Linked DNA regions of Homo sapiens: all the other regions are linked to region 5. Evidence: promoter capture Hi-C in 16 types of primary human blood cells and fetal thymus (Javierre and others, 2016). All regions are on one chromosome and are shown on one strand. Each heading gives the region's core, a stretch centred on a gene start or on the middle of the fragment in contact. The rest is flanking DNA. Distances are from core to core; before and after follow the strand shown. Region 1 overlaps PPM1E (protein phosphatase, Mg2+/Mn2+ dependent 1E). Region 2 has its middle 120 kb from the start of TRIM37. Region 3 overlaps PPM1E (protein phosphatase, Mg2+/Mn2+ dependent 1E). Region 4 overlaps PPM1E (protein phosphatase, Mg2+/Mn2+ dependent 1E). Region 5 holds the start of PPM1E (protein phosphatase, Mg2+/Mn2+ dependent 1E).

What was found. Contacts are between HindIII fragments. The CHiCAGO score rates a contact against its expected background, and 5 or more counts as called.
Region 1: a contact is called between a fragment that was not itself captured here and the fragment with the promoter of PPM1E in region 5, in 4 of 17 cell types (erythroblasts, megakaryocytes, endothelial precursors and 1 more). The highest score is 6.0, in erythroblasts.
Region 2: a contact is called between a fragment that was not itself captured here and the fragment with the promoter of PPM1E in region 5, in 6 of 17 cell types (megakaryocytes, naive B cells, naive CD8 T cells and 3 more). The highest score is 7.3, in megakaryocytes.
Region 3: a contact is called between a fragment that was not itself captured here and the fragment with the promoter of PPM1E in region 5, in 1 of 17 cell types (M1 macrophages). The highest score is 5.5, in M1 macrophages.
Region 4: a contact is called between a fragment that was not itself captured here and the fragment with the promoter of PPM1E in region 5, in 3 of 17 cell types (erythroblasts, endothelial precursors and M0 macrophages). The highest score is 7.6, in erythroblasts.

Annotation. Positions count from the first base shown.
Region 1 is chr17:58,969,546-58,972,245 of GRCh38, forward strand. It overlaps PPM1E (protein phosphatase, Mg2+/Mn2+ dependent 1E), which reads left to right. Exons shown (of 7, transcript NM_014906.5): 4 at 1-182; 5 at 2,587-2,700. It also overlaps a transcript of TRIM37 not described here. Among named protein-coding and RNA genes, the nearest start is that of TRIM37, 140 kb to the right of the region's middle. The HindIII fragment of the contact is 2,496 bases long and covers 8-2,503 here.
Region 2 is chr17:58,985,765-58,988,464 of GRCh38, forward strand. It overlaps a transcript of TRIM37 not described here. Among named protein-coding and RNA genes, the nearest start is that of TRIM37, 120 kb to the right of the region's middle. The HindIII fragment of the contact is 3,205 bases long and covers 1-2,700 here.
Region 3 is chr17:58,909,490-58,912,189 of GRCh38, forward strand. All of the region lies in intron 1 of PPM1E (protein phosphatase, Mg2+/Mn2+ dependent 1E), which reads left to right. Among named protein-coding and RNA genes, the nearest start is that of PPM1E, 150 kb to the left of the region's middle. The HindIII fragment of the contact is 989 bases long and covers 807-1,795 here.
Region 4 is chr17:58,946,785-58,949,484 of GRCh38, forward strand. All of the region lies in intron 1 of PPM1E (protein phosphatase, Mg2+/Mn2+ dependent 1E), which reads left to right. Among named protein-coding and RNA genes, the nearest start is that of TRIM37, 160 kb to the right of the region's middle. The HindIII fragment of the contact is 708 bases long and covers 900-1,607 here.
Region 5 is chr17:58,754,471-58,757,170 of GRCh38, forward strand. It overlaps PPM1E (protein phosphatase, Mg2+/Mn2+ dependent 1E), which reads left to right and starts at 1,384. Exons shown (of 7, transcript NM_014906.5): 1 at 1,384-1,991. The coding sequence starts at 1,528. LOC105371843 (a long non-coding RNA gene) reads right to left here and starts at 1,640. Exons shown (of 3, transcript XR_007065866.1): 1 at 1,561-1,640. RefSeq lists silencers at 1,203-1,392, 1,392-1,540. The HindIII fragment of the contact is 8,580 bases long and covers 704-2,700 here.

The sequences.
Region 1 (2,700 bases), core at 6-2,505, 210 kb after region 5:
AAGAACAAGCTTACTTTGCAGTGTTTGATGGCCATGGGGGAGTAGATGCTGCTATTTATGCCTCCATTCACCTCCACGTTAACTTAGTCCGCCAGGAGATGTTCCCCCATGATCCTGCTGAGGCCCTGTGCAGGGCCTTCCGGGTCACTGATGAGCGGTTTGTGCAGAAAGCAGCCAGGGAGGTATGCCCCTTTCTCATAAGTTCCAGCTAGAAATGTACTAGCTGAGCTCAATTTGGTCTGTGTGGTTAAAGGGCTATTTAGATTTTCTCTTTCTGGGCAGACATTATCCAAACTGTATTCTTGACTCACAGTATTGGATTCTGTTGTAGTTCCAATTCCCTCCTCAGGAAGAGTTTCAGGGGGTACAATGAGGTACTGTATAGAAAATCTCAAGCTGTAATTTTCTGGATTCATTTCTGTAATAACTGCTGGATTTGGCAGGTGAGTTTCATCTTTCTTTTATTCACCATTGCCTGTCAGGTTCACACCAGGACCATCTCTCTAAGCAGACTCTTGCTGACAAGATCTGGATATGGTGAATAAAACAATGGTCTAAAAAAGAAACAGAAACTGGGATTACTTCCATACATTTGGTTCTAAATGGGTAGGCAGTGTTTTGCTGTGTATCTCTTGAGGGAAAATTCGCTTGGAGAGGGTGAATCCTTAAATGATCCTTGAGCTGATTTTTCTCTTAATAGGGAGAAAAGAAGAGCTCATGTCCTACATTGCGAAGGTTAATCAGACCTAAGTTTTTTTTACTTTGAATAAATGGCAAGGGCTCTATATTAAGGTCTAAAAGTAAAAAAATTAATCTAATTATCGTTCTGGGTATTGGTACATAATTAACTACAGTGTTCTATATTGGATTTTTAACTGGGGACGAATAAAAGAATTTTTAATTTTTAAAAATAATTACAGAAGTAGATACAGACAAAAAATAAGACTCCTGCCCTGTGACTTAAACATTAACTCTTTTTAAAATGGGCTTGGAGAGATCAGGGTAATCATTTAATCCATTTTTTGATAGCATAGTTATGCTACAAGCAATAATGGGGCTTAGAATTAATGAAACAATAACTCAGACCTATTTGGTATTAAGAAAGAGAATTATTCTTCATCTCTCCCCTCCCCTAAGTTTGGATTAATATGCAAATCCAACAGTAACCAGTAGAGTCCACACAAAGAGGTGGGTCTGGAGAATAAAGCCACTCTTGACCTCAGAGCTCCAGTCTCTTGAGGACCTGCATTCTGCTTGGCTCTGCCTCTCTTGAAGCTGTGGGCTTTTATCATCTGAGTCGAGGACAAGGGCCGGCCCCTGAGAGGTGACCCGTAATCATCAATGTGAAACAAAGAGATTCACTCTGTCTTCTTCATCCTCTATTCTATTCTTTTTTTCCTCTGTCTTCTCAAAATTATGTGTTGTTGTTGTTGTTGTTGTTTTCTGACCATGTTTACCTCATTTGTTTTGTCAGTGACCCTGGTGTCTCTCAGTTCTGCCAATAGTTCTGAATAATTTAGGTTTGTCTCAGCGCCCCTTTTCTCCTTCTTATGCTTCCATGTGCTGCTAACTGCTGGGAAGAAAACAGCTATTCCTGTTATGAAGCAGCCCTGCCTCCTGTTCTCTCCAGGGCATATGCACTGAAGTGTGTTTATCATGTGTTCTAGGGGGCTGAGTTTTTGAACATTCTGTGTGGGAAGACATTTTATTGGTGGGTGAGGATTTATAACAAACTTTCCCTATATAGGGAAAACGAGAAGTTGTTTTTCTCATTGGATACAAGAGACCTTTTACCACCCCTGACGCATTGGTTCTAATTTAGGCCAGGTCCTTAGTAACAGAAAGTCATGCTCATTTGGTGGTGACTCATGTCAAATGGGGATGTCATTTTCGTATAGTAGGACCAAGAGCTTTAAGTACAGTCGTAGCTACTGCAGTGAAATTCCAGGCTGTTAGTTCTTTATGCAATGTTCCAAAAGCAAAGACCCCTAAAAATACTGTAGGAAGGATATTTTTTTAAAGGTATAAGCATCTTAGTACTCCAGGGAACGTAAGCTGTCTCTTGGCCCCTTAGCTTAATTTCCAGAGATTAGAGCATCTGTTGTGTACCAATCAGATGTTTTATATATCATTTTATACAGCTAGGACTCTCCCACTGAACAAATACGATGTCAGTAATGAAATGGAGAGCAGAATATAGAAATTTTTACTCTGAGGATTGGTATAGAGGATTTAGTGCTTGACTGGGAGGAAAAAGAATTTCAATTCTGTCTTATATACTAATAGTTACCTGCCCTTGGGCAAGTCACATAACCTGCCATAGTTTTCTTATCTATATTTAAAGTGGAATTAATAATCATCCTCGCCCTGCATATCACAGATCAGGTGGACTTATGTGTGTATATACACATAAATACATACATGCATATACAAATGCATTGAGACAATGAATTATTATATATGTGTGAAATTCCATTATTAATAGTATAGCTCCCAGCTGAAAAGCTTAATTATAAATTGCTTCTCAATAAGAATGTAGTATCTATTTCTTTTCACTGAGTCTAGTTTTATTTAAACTGTTTTCAGAGCTTAAGATGTGGGACCACAGGAGTGGTGACTTTCATCAGAGGCAACATGCTACATGTGGCCTGGGTGGGTGATTCCCAGGTTATGCTTGTGAGAAAGGGCCAAGCTGTTGAA
Region 2 (2,700 bases), core at 104-2,603, 230 kb after region 5:
GCCTTTACAATTAATTTTACATAGTTTCAAAAATCTTCAACTCCTAATTCCCTAAATTCATTCAGTCCTTGGCATGACTTTATATAGAACCAAATGAACAATTGAGAAAAAAAAGGTGAAGTTTTGAAAGAAGGACATATTTGAAGGGGTTTACTGAAGCAGGGAATGACAGAAAAGGAACATTTTGATTAGTAAGTGTTACACTTGAAAAAATTCCCTAAAATATAGTATTACTTAGATCAAAAGGAACACCTCTTTCTGAAGGAGCAGCACACAGCAAGACAGAAGGGAACCACTAGGTACAGTAAAATCATTTGAACATCATAGAAATTTACCCAAGTTACCAAATTATCAGAAACAACTGTCTGTACTGACAAGCTGCATAACTGAGCATTCCCCCCCACACCCGCCCCCTGTTGCTGTCAGTGTGCATCATTTCCTTTCCTTCTTTTGAGATGGAGTTTCATTCTGTCACCCAGGCCGGAGTGCAGTGACGTGATCTTGGCTCACCACAACCTCTGCCTCCCAGGTTCAAGCGATTTTCCTGCCTCAATCTCCCAAGTAGCTGGGATTACAGGCGCCCGCCACCACACCCAGCTCATTTTATTATTATTAGTGGAGGTGGGGTTTCACCATGTTGGCCAGGCTGGTCTCGAACTCCTGACCTCAGATGATCCACCCTCCCACCTCGGCCTCCCTAAGTGCATCATTTTCTTTTTGATTGCAAGTTTCCATCTGTCTTTTTTTTTTTTTTTTTTCTTTTTTGAGACAAGAGTCCTGCTGTGTCACCCTGGCTGGAGTGCAGTGGTGCAATCTCGGCTCACTGCAACCTCTGCCTCCCAGGTTCAAGCAATTCTTGTGCCTCAGCCTCCCAGGATGCTGGGATTACAGGCGTCGGCCACCACGCCTGGCTTTTGTGTTTTTAGTAGAGACGGGGTTTTGCCATGTTGGCCAGACTGGTCTTGAACACCTGACCTCAAGTGATCTGCCTGCCTTGGCCTCCCCAAGTGCTGGGATTTACAGGTGTGAGACACCACGCCCAGCCCCATCTGTCATCTTAACAGCAATTAGTAAAGAACACTTTTTCTATTGTGCTTTAGGGAACCTCCTTTTGCTTGGCCTAGGAATAACCTTATGGAAGATCCCTTACTTACATTTAAAACAAGTCACATTCTTTTCTGAGAGCCCCAACTGTTGAATATGTTTAGTAAGAAGCGCTCTTCCCTGGGCAGTTGGTTGAGCCTGCCTCTTATGCTGAGCTGTAGGATGCTGCCCCAGTCACGCAACCTCCAGATGAAGTGTGTCCTCTCCTCATTGTGCAAACAAGGGCCCTCACACACAGGTTCTATTTGATTTTTATAATCTTGCTTTAGGACCAGGGAAACAAATGTGAAAAACTGTCAAGAATGATACACATTTGGGGAAACCATTTTCCAAATGAGTAACTGGAGTTTAACTAAAGATGATGAAAAAGTTGTCCCTGCTAGTCATTACATTGAGTAGTATGACAGCTACAGGATTAGGGGTGGCCAATTAAGCCAAATCGAGTTGCTACGGGTTCACTAGGTCAAATGAAACCCAGTGGGAGGTGAGCCTATGCAGCAGCCTTTCCCAAATGCACACCAGGAGACACTGACTGACCTGAAGGTCTCGGGCAAGGACTCTGGCCCGCAGGGTCTGCAGAGCAGGAATGGAAGGGAGACTCCCGGTCAACATGCCAGCCAGAGAAAAGGATTTTAGAAAGAGAGCAGCCCGTACTACTGATGTCCCAAACTACACTGTGGCTAATCTTACCATTTGCTCTTAAGCATCCCTAAGCAGAGTTCTAAAACTTCTATAAATCTAGACTATGAAGGCATGTATTGGTAGATGTGAGAATGAGAGGTAGAATGAGGAGAAATCTAAAAATATTACCACATAAAAATTCAAATGAATATGCAAAAAAGAAAATAGCTCTTGGGGTTTTCTATTTCCCAAATTTTTCTAATCTTATCACCTTTATAATTCAAACATTTAAAAAACTAGATAAAAAAATTAAAAATGGCTCATTTTCTGAATTCTGGTTTTAGGATTAATTACACTCATGTTTTACATTCAATAAAATGTGTGTTTTACATATATACATTTTTAAATCACAGCACTTCCAGCTTCCACTCCGGGATGTAGGGGTAGAAGGAGCATTTCTTCTACTCTTACAATGCAAACGAGCCAGATGAACTATAAATTAGGACATTTTTTCGAATCCATTGGAAAGCTGAGGTTGCAGAGTAACCAAGTGGCACCAAATGGAGAGGGGCAGTTGCCTGCAAGGGGAGAGAAGACATTAGCACTAGTTTCGTAGGGTCGTTGTAAACAGACACTGGAAAGAATAGGCTAGCTAAAAGTGATGATTGGTGAAGGCAGAATATGGGCTGCAGGAGTGTTAAGACCCGGGGGCCTGCAGAAACTAGGGGAGTCGCCCTATCTTGCAGGCTTTTTCTTTACAATCTCTACCAGGGGCTCAGAAAATACTGTAAAGAGCCCTAAGAAGTGTCGGCTGTGACACACACCCAGGGGAGTATACAGCGGCCTTGGGCATGGGTAAAGGAACTTACCATACCCTTTCTCTCATCTCACAGAACAAAAGCACCCTATGAGGGAAAAGGAGCACAAATACTGTTGCCGTCTGGACACTGGTGAAAAGTCACTGCAGCAGAGAGA
Region 3 (2,700 bases), core at 51-2,550, 150 kb after region 5:
TCAACTGATCCCCCCATAGCACTGGGATGACAGGTGTGAGCCACCATGGCTGACCTCTCCTTTGCTTTTGAAGGAATATTGCAGGGTACAGAATTCTAGGTGGGTGGTTTTTTTCTCTCAACCCTTTTTTCACTCTGTTCTCTTCTTGCTTGCATGGTTTCTGAGGAAAAGATAGATACAATTCTTCTCTTTGCTCCTCTGTAAGTAAGGTGTTTTATTTTTCTGGCTTCTTTCAAGATTTCATTCTTTATCCTTGATTTTCTATAGTTTAAAATGATATTCCTAGGTACAGGGTTTTTGTTTTTGTTTTTTGACATTTATTCTTCTTGGTGTTCTCTGAGATTTCTGGGTCTGTGATTTGGTGCCAAGACATTACCTTGGGGAAATTCTTAGTCATTTTTCTTTCTTTCTTTCTTTCTTTCTTTTTTCTTTTTCTTTTTTTTTTTTTTTTTTTTGAGACTGGAGTGCAGTGGTGCTATCTTGGCTCACTGCAAACTCCACCTCCTGGATTCAAGTGATTCTCCTGCCTCAGCCTCCCAACTAGCTGGGATTATAGGTGCCCGCCACCACACCCAGATAATTTTTGTATTTTTGGTAGAGAAGGGGTTTTGCCATGTTGGCCAGGCTGGTCTTGAACTCCTGACCTCAGGTGATCCACCCGCCTCGTTGCCCCACAGTTCTTGAGTATTCTGTTCTGTTTTTTTCAGTCCTTATTTGCTTTTCAGTTTTGGAGGTTTCTATTGTATATCCTCAAGCTTAGAAATTCTTTCCTAAGCCAAGTCCAGGCTACTAATAAGCCCATCAAAAGCTTTCTTCATTTCTTTTACAGTGTTTTTTATCTCTAGCATTCATTTTGGCTCTTTCTTTAGATTTCCACCTCTCTGCTTATACCGCCCATCTCTTTTTGCATGTTGTCTACGTTATCCATTAGAGCCCTTAGCATATTAATCATAGTTGTTTTAAATTCCTGGTATGATAATCCCAACCTCTCCACCATATCTAGTTCTGATACTTGTTCTGTCTTTTCAAAATTTTTTTTGCTTTTAGTATGTCTTGTAATTTTTTCTTAATAGCCAGACATGATGTATAGGGTAAAAGGAACTGCTATAAATAGCCCTTTAGTAATGTGGTGATAAGGTATGTAGTTAGGGGAAACTAGTCCTGTAATTAGACTTCATTCTTTTAGTGAGGCTGTACTTATGGACTGTGAGCTTCACATATTGTTCTCAGGGTTGGTTTTGTTTTTTCCTCCACCTTAGGTGGGACAAGAAGGCTAGAGTGAGCTGGAGATGGGTATTGCCCTTCCCCTAGGTCAGTTAGGCTCTGATAAACCCCATCACATTAGACTCTGGTTAGCTAGTTTCTTCTGAAAGAAGACCTTATTAAGAAGAAGAGGGTGCTCTGCCGCATTTCAACATGGTTCCTTTTCCCCTCCTCTTGCCAGATTCATGAGGGGATTTTTTTCTGATACTCACTGTGATGACCTGGTAGAGCTCCTGGAGGTGAAACTCACAAAAGTGTGGGGAGCCCCTCTGACTGGGTCTTCCTGGAGTTTTTGACTATCAGACTTCTACACCTAGTCTCCAGCAGTTTGTCAATTACAGTTCAGGTTTTCTTACCCTGGAATTGGTTCCTATGGAGGTGTCTGATGGGTATGTTTTATAATTCTCTGTATACACCTGTCCAATTTTAGGAGCAACTGTGACCTCACTTCTCTTAAGAATCTAAGAAGTATTGTTGGTTTTGCAGTTTGCTTAGCTTTTTACTTGTTGTTAGGTTGGAGTGGCCACTTCCAAGCTTCTTACAAGTGGAACCAAAGCTGGAAGTCTTCCCTCTATTGTTAAAATAATTCTCTTCAAATTTTTTTCTCTTTATTTTAATTGTAACACAGGAATAGGGGATAACATTTAACCACCATTTGTGTACTACAGAATAGTCAGGGCCATACTAAAGATTGGAGTAGGCCTTAGGACCAGATGAAATAAGCATCTGGTTATTTCATGATTTCATCATGATTTCAAAGGGTCAGTTGAAGGCTTTTCAGGTGCATTTAAAAGTATCTCTACTGGTTAATAAGAATAATATCTAAAATTGTAACACTAGAGGTTTATTTCTTTGGTTTATTGTTCTTGTTAAAATGCAGATAACCCTGAAGCGTTTTTCTTTTGTACGTTTTTAATATAAAGTCATTCATTCATTCAACAAATACTTATTGAATGCCTACTGTATACTAGGTGCTGTTCTGGGTGCTGAAGATAAATAAGTGAACATTATTGATTGAGTCCTTGTGGAGGGCAAGAGTGAGATAGACATTCATTCACAAATAAATAATAAGAAAGATGTTAAGAAGGTACTTTTTTTAAGAGAGTGAGTGTTAGAAACAAGAGCTCAGAGTCGCAAGGAAAACAAGCACTCAAACCATTTCTCAGCAAGGCAAATTTACTTGTGCAGAAGGGTGCCGCTTGCACTTCTGGCCTCTGCGAGAGCACACCAAACAAAGGAGAGAAGGATTTTTTATCCCTAACGCAGTCCCTATCCCTGTGTCCTTCCCCTATTGGCTAGGGTTGAACTGTACAATCTAAGCTGACCCTGGTTGGCTAAGACTTAAACTTTTCCAATTAGGGTAAACACACGATTTGCAAGGGAGGGAGGGGGTAGGAGTGGTCCCGCTGCTATAGCACAAGGTATGTTCGGATATGT
Region 4 (2,700 bases), core at 4-2,503, 190 kb after region 5:
TCACTTTACTGATTTGTGATACAAAAGTTTTAAATTTTGATGTAGTCCAATTTAATATTTTTTTTCTTTTCTGCTTGTGCTTTTGGTGTCAGAGCTAAGAAAACCATTGCCTAATCCAAGGTCATGAAGATTTACTCTTTTAGGAGTTTTCTTTTAGGAGTTTTATGAGTTTTAGCTTTACATTTAGGTCTGTGATGCATTTGGCATTAATTTTTGTATATGGTGTAAGGAAGGGGTCCAACTTGATTATTTTGCATGTGGATATCCAATTTTTCCAGCACCATTTGACCATTTTGTTAAACAGAAAGTTATTTTCCTTTTTCCTGTTTTTTTTTTTTTTTTTTTTTTTTTTTTAGACAGTCTTGCTCTGTTGCCCAGGCTTGAGTGTGATCTGCCCACCTCGGTCTCCCAAAGTGTTGGGATTACAAGTGTGAGCCACACTCCTGGCCTTTTTTTTTTTTTTTTTTTTTTTGAGACAGTCTTGCTTTATCACCCAGGCTGGAGTGCAGTGACGTGATCTCAGCTCACTGCAACCTCTGCCTCTTGGGTTCAGGCGATTCTCATGCCTCAGCCACCCAAGTAGCTGGGATTATAGGCGTGCACCACCACACCCAGCTAGTTTTTGTATTTTTGGTAGAGACAGGGTTTCACCATGTTAGCCAGGCTGGTCTTGAATTCCTGGTCTCAGGTGATCCACCCACCTTGGCCTCCCAAGGGGCTGGGATTACGGGTACGAGACACTGCACCTGGCCTTTTTTTTTTTTTTTTCACTTATTTGACCTCTCAGCAATTGACAGAGTTCACTGCTCCCTCCTTCAAATACTCTCTACTATCTCGGTTCTCCTTTTACAGATTTTGCCATTTCTCTTTAGTCTTCATAGGTCCCTTGTCTTCTACTAAGCTTCTAAATATTGGGTTTTCAGTTATTGTCACTGTATTGCAAATTACCACAAAACTTAGTGGCATAAAACAATTATTTATTATGCTCACAATGTCTTTCAGTCAGAAATTAAAACTGGGTAAAGCAAGGTCACCTTATCTCTGTTCCAACTGGGGTCTCTGTTGGAAGACTCAGGCTGGGGGACTGGAATCATCTGAAGGCTTGTGAACTTACATGTCAAGCAATTGATAATGGCTACTGCCTGGGAGACCTCAGGCTACATCCACATGAGCCTGTTCATGTGGTTTCTCCACATGGCTAGTTTGGGCTTCCTCATGGCTTGATGGCTTGGCTGAGTATGAAGAGCAAGTATCCAGAGGGAGACAGAGGAAGAAAGAAGAGGAAGCCGGGGGAAGCCACGTGGCCTTTTATGAACAAACTTCAAAAGTCACACAGTATCACTTTTGCTACATTTTTTTCATCCGAGTAGTCACCACACCTCACCCATGTTTAGATTAGGAAGGGAAACAGACTCTATTTTTTTATGGGGAATGGCAAAGTTCTAAAATAGCATGCGGGACCAGGAATGCTGTTGCGGCCTTTTTAAAAATAATCTGCCACAGTCTTTTCTGGCCACACAATTCACATCCTTCCCATGTGCTAAATGCACTCACCCAACATCCCCTAAGATTTCCCAAAGTCTAATCCCATTATGGTATTAGGCTGAAGCTTGAGGTCCAAGATTTCATTGAGGCCAAGACCATGGCAGATAAGATTTCTTATCTGGCAAGTAAGGTTTCTTCCTTTAAAAAAAAATTCTCCAATGAGAGTTTAATTTTTATGTTTATCAAAGTGTATACTATATTAGATCATTTGTGTACCAGTAGTTACACTGATAAGGCAATGAAAAAGAAAATGTTTAACGCTGGAGCCTTATGGTCACAGAAAGTTTTTAAAAATTTAATTTCAATTTTCATACATATTTTTACTGCAGAGACATATTATATACTGCTTTGGCTGAGTCCCATAGGTTTTGGTATGTTGTGTTTCTGTTTTCATTTGTTTCAAGGAATTAGTCAATTTCCTTCTTAATTTCTTTCTTCACCCATTGGTTGTTTAGGAGCATGTTGTGTAATTTCCATGTATTTGTGTAATTTTGAATGTTTCACTTGTTATTGGTTTCTAGTTTTATTCCATAGTCAGATAAGATACTTGATATGACTTCAATTAAAAAAATTTTTTTAGCCTTGTTCTGTGTCCTAACATGTAGTCAATTCTGGAGAATGTTCCATTTGCTAATAAAAAGAATGCATATTCTGCAGCTGTTGGGTGAAATGTTCTGTAAATGTCTGTTAGAGCTATGCTATGGTTTATCTGATGTTTCCTTGTTGATTTTCTGCCTAGATGATTTCTGCAATGCTGAGTTGGGTGTTGAAGTCCCCAGCTGTTATTGTATTGGCATCTGTCTCTTCCTTTAGATCTAATAGTATTTTCTTTATGAATCTGGGTGTGCTGGTCTTAGGTGCATGTATATTTACAATTGTTATAGCTTCTTGAATTGTTTCCTTAATTACTATATAATGTCCTTCTTTGTCTCTTTTTATAGCTTTCGACTTAAAGTCTGTTTTAGCTGATATAAATATAGCTTTTCCTGCTTGCTTTTGGTTTCCATTTGCGTGGAATATCTCTTTCCATCCCTTCACTTTCAGTCTGTGTATATCCTTATAGATGAGGTGAGTTTCTTGTAGACAGCATATAGTTGGGTCTTGTTTTTGTTTTTGTTTGTTTGCTTTGTTGTTGTTGTTTAAATTCATTCAGCC
Region 5 (2,700 bases), core at 134-2,633:
TCCGTCTCAAAAAAAAAAGAAAGAGAAAAGAAAAAATACATATTATATAATGAAGTATAATATGCATTATGCAGAGACTAAAGAGGGGAGTCTTGGTTGCCTGAAAACTAATGGGTAAAATCCATTGAAGTGGGTGAATCCAGTGAAAAGACCTGGATTGAGTCCTTGTTGCATCCCTTGCATGTGACCTTGAGCAAAGTCACCATGTCTTTAAGGCTGTTTTCTCACCTATAAAATGGAATAATTGGCCGGCGTGGTGGGTCACACCTGTAATCCCAGCACTTTGGGAGGCTGAGGCAGGCAGATCACCTGAGGTCAGGAGTTTGAGACCAGCCTGGCCAATATGGTGAAACCCCGTCTCTACTAAAAATACAAAAGTTAGCCGGGGGTGGTGGCAGGCCCCTGTAATCCCAGCTACTTGGGAGGCTGACGCAGGAGAATCACTTGAACCCGAGAGGCGGAGGTTGCAGTGAGCTGAGATCGCGCCACTGCACTCCAGCCTGGGTGACAAGAGCGAGATTGTCTCAAAAAAAAAAAAATCATAACGGTAACGTCCTATACCTCAAGGGACTGTGGTAAGAATTAAAAGGGTGAAATCAATGTGTAAACTATGAAGCCCAATAGAAATAAGGTGTTATACAGACAATTGCACTATTGAATCTCCGGAGACAGAGTTGAGTTAAGGAAAAATGCACTTTCGGAAAGCTTTGGCGACTGAACGACCTGAGTTCTCCAACGCCAAGGCTGGAAGTTTGGAGACCTTGAAACAAGTAAATTACCATTAATATCATAATTTTCAGTTTCCTTTTAAGAAATGAGAGTAACACCACTTTCTTCACAGAATCAAGTGAGAGAGAACCTATGCAAAGGAACTTATCACTTGGTAGGTATTTGAAGCTCCCTCTGCCTGAAAACTACTTATTCAAAGACTGCAACAAAAGGTGTTCACAGTGTGGTATCTTTCAAAACATACGCTAAGGCAAGGAACAGATAAGGAAATGGAAGTACATCCAATTGGGATCCAAGCAACCCAAGTGGGAACCAACAGCTAGACTTGGAGATGTCTTAGCTCACTCTTAACCACGTGAGGGTAGGGTATCCAACCAATAAAGACATTCAGAGTTGGAGAGCGGGCGAGTGGAGTGTCCTTTAGACTCCGCGGACTCGACGGGAGGGACCCTGCAATGCTTAATTAGAACCGGTTGCCATGGCGACAGTCTCTAGGCAGCGTGGGCTGAGCTCTCCGTAGGAATAAAGGGTGGGCCGCCGCTGGACCCTGCGCGCGCCCGCCACCAACTTTCCCTCCAGATCCGAGAGGGGCGGCGCGCTCCGCCCCCGGGCCGCGCACGTCGGTGCTCGGCGGCGCGCACGCCTGCGGGAGCCCTCTCCAGGCAACCTAGTGCTGATCGCTCGTGCCGGTGCGGCCGTTAACCGCCCTTGCCGGAGCCCTAGGCTCAAAAGCAGCCCCTTACCCTTCCTGGGCTTCCCCCAACCCCTTTCCCGGTCTGCCCTGGGGCATGAGCAGCGATGGCCGGCTGCATCCCTGAGGAGAAAACTTACCGGCGCTTCCTGGAGCTATTCCTGGGCGAGTTTCGCGGACCGTGCGGCGGCGGCGAGCCGGAGCCGGAACCCGAACCCGAACCCGAACCCGAACCCGAGTCCGAGCCCGAGCCCGAACCTGAACTGGTAGAAGCTGAGGCGGCCGAGGCTTCGGTAGAGGAACCCGGGGAGGAGGCGGCCACGGTAGCCGCGACGGAGGAGGGGGACCAGGAGCAAGACCCGGAGCCCGAGGAGGAGGCGGCGGTTGAGGGTGAGGAGGAGGAGGAGGGCGCGGCGACGGCGGCGGCAGCCCCGGGGCACTCGGCCGTGCCGCCGCCGCCGCCCCAGCTGCCGCCTTTGCCCCCGCTCCCGCGACCGCTGTCAGAGCGCATCACCCGCGAGGAGGTGGAGGGCGAAAGCCTGGACCTGTGCCTGCAGCAGCTCTACAAATAGTTAAGTAGCTGGGCTTGGCTGGTGGTGGGCCCGCGGTCCCCACCGCGCCGGCCTCGGACGCGGCTCCCTCGGCCCCTCAAACTGCTCTCTTTTCTGCTCCTCTCCCCCGCACCCGCGCCTGCCGCCGCTGAAAGCGCCCCCGCTGCTCGGACCCGGGCGGTCGGCTGAGAGCTGCCCACGCCCGCCTCGGCCCCCACGCCCGCCTCGGCCCCCACGCCTCCTACCCGGCCTTGAAGCCGCTCTCCTGAGCCCCGGCGCCCTCCCGCCGGGCCCGGGCCCCTCATCCCCTTTCACCTCGGCCCCCAGCTTCTAGCTCCACTTCACGCAACCTTTCCCTTTCCTGCCTGGAAAGGTCCTTCCTCCCAGGCTTGAGCTCCCTCTTCTTCCCAGATCCCTTCTTTCTCCGGGAGGTTTCCTCCCACCCCAGTCTGTCTTTTCCCGGGCTGAGTGCCTTGTTGTTTGGCGGCAGAGACGCGACTCCTTTCTAGACTGAGCTGCGAGGTGCCTCCTGCGTAACTGCAACAATGATGGTTATACCGGCCCCGTATCCAGATGAGAGAATGGAGTAGATTTTCCGTCAGGTGCTCAGTGTTGAAAGTGAAGGGCTTTTTAGATGTTTTCACACAGGGAAGCCTAGTCTCTTAGTTTAGACATTTGACATTCCATAATTGAGGGAAGTGGGAAGGAATTGAGAGGGAAGGGTAAGCA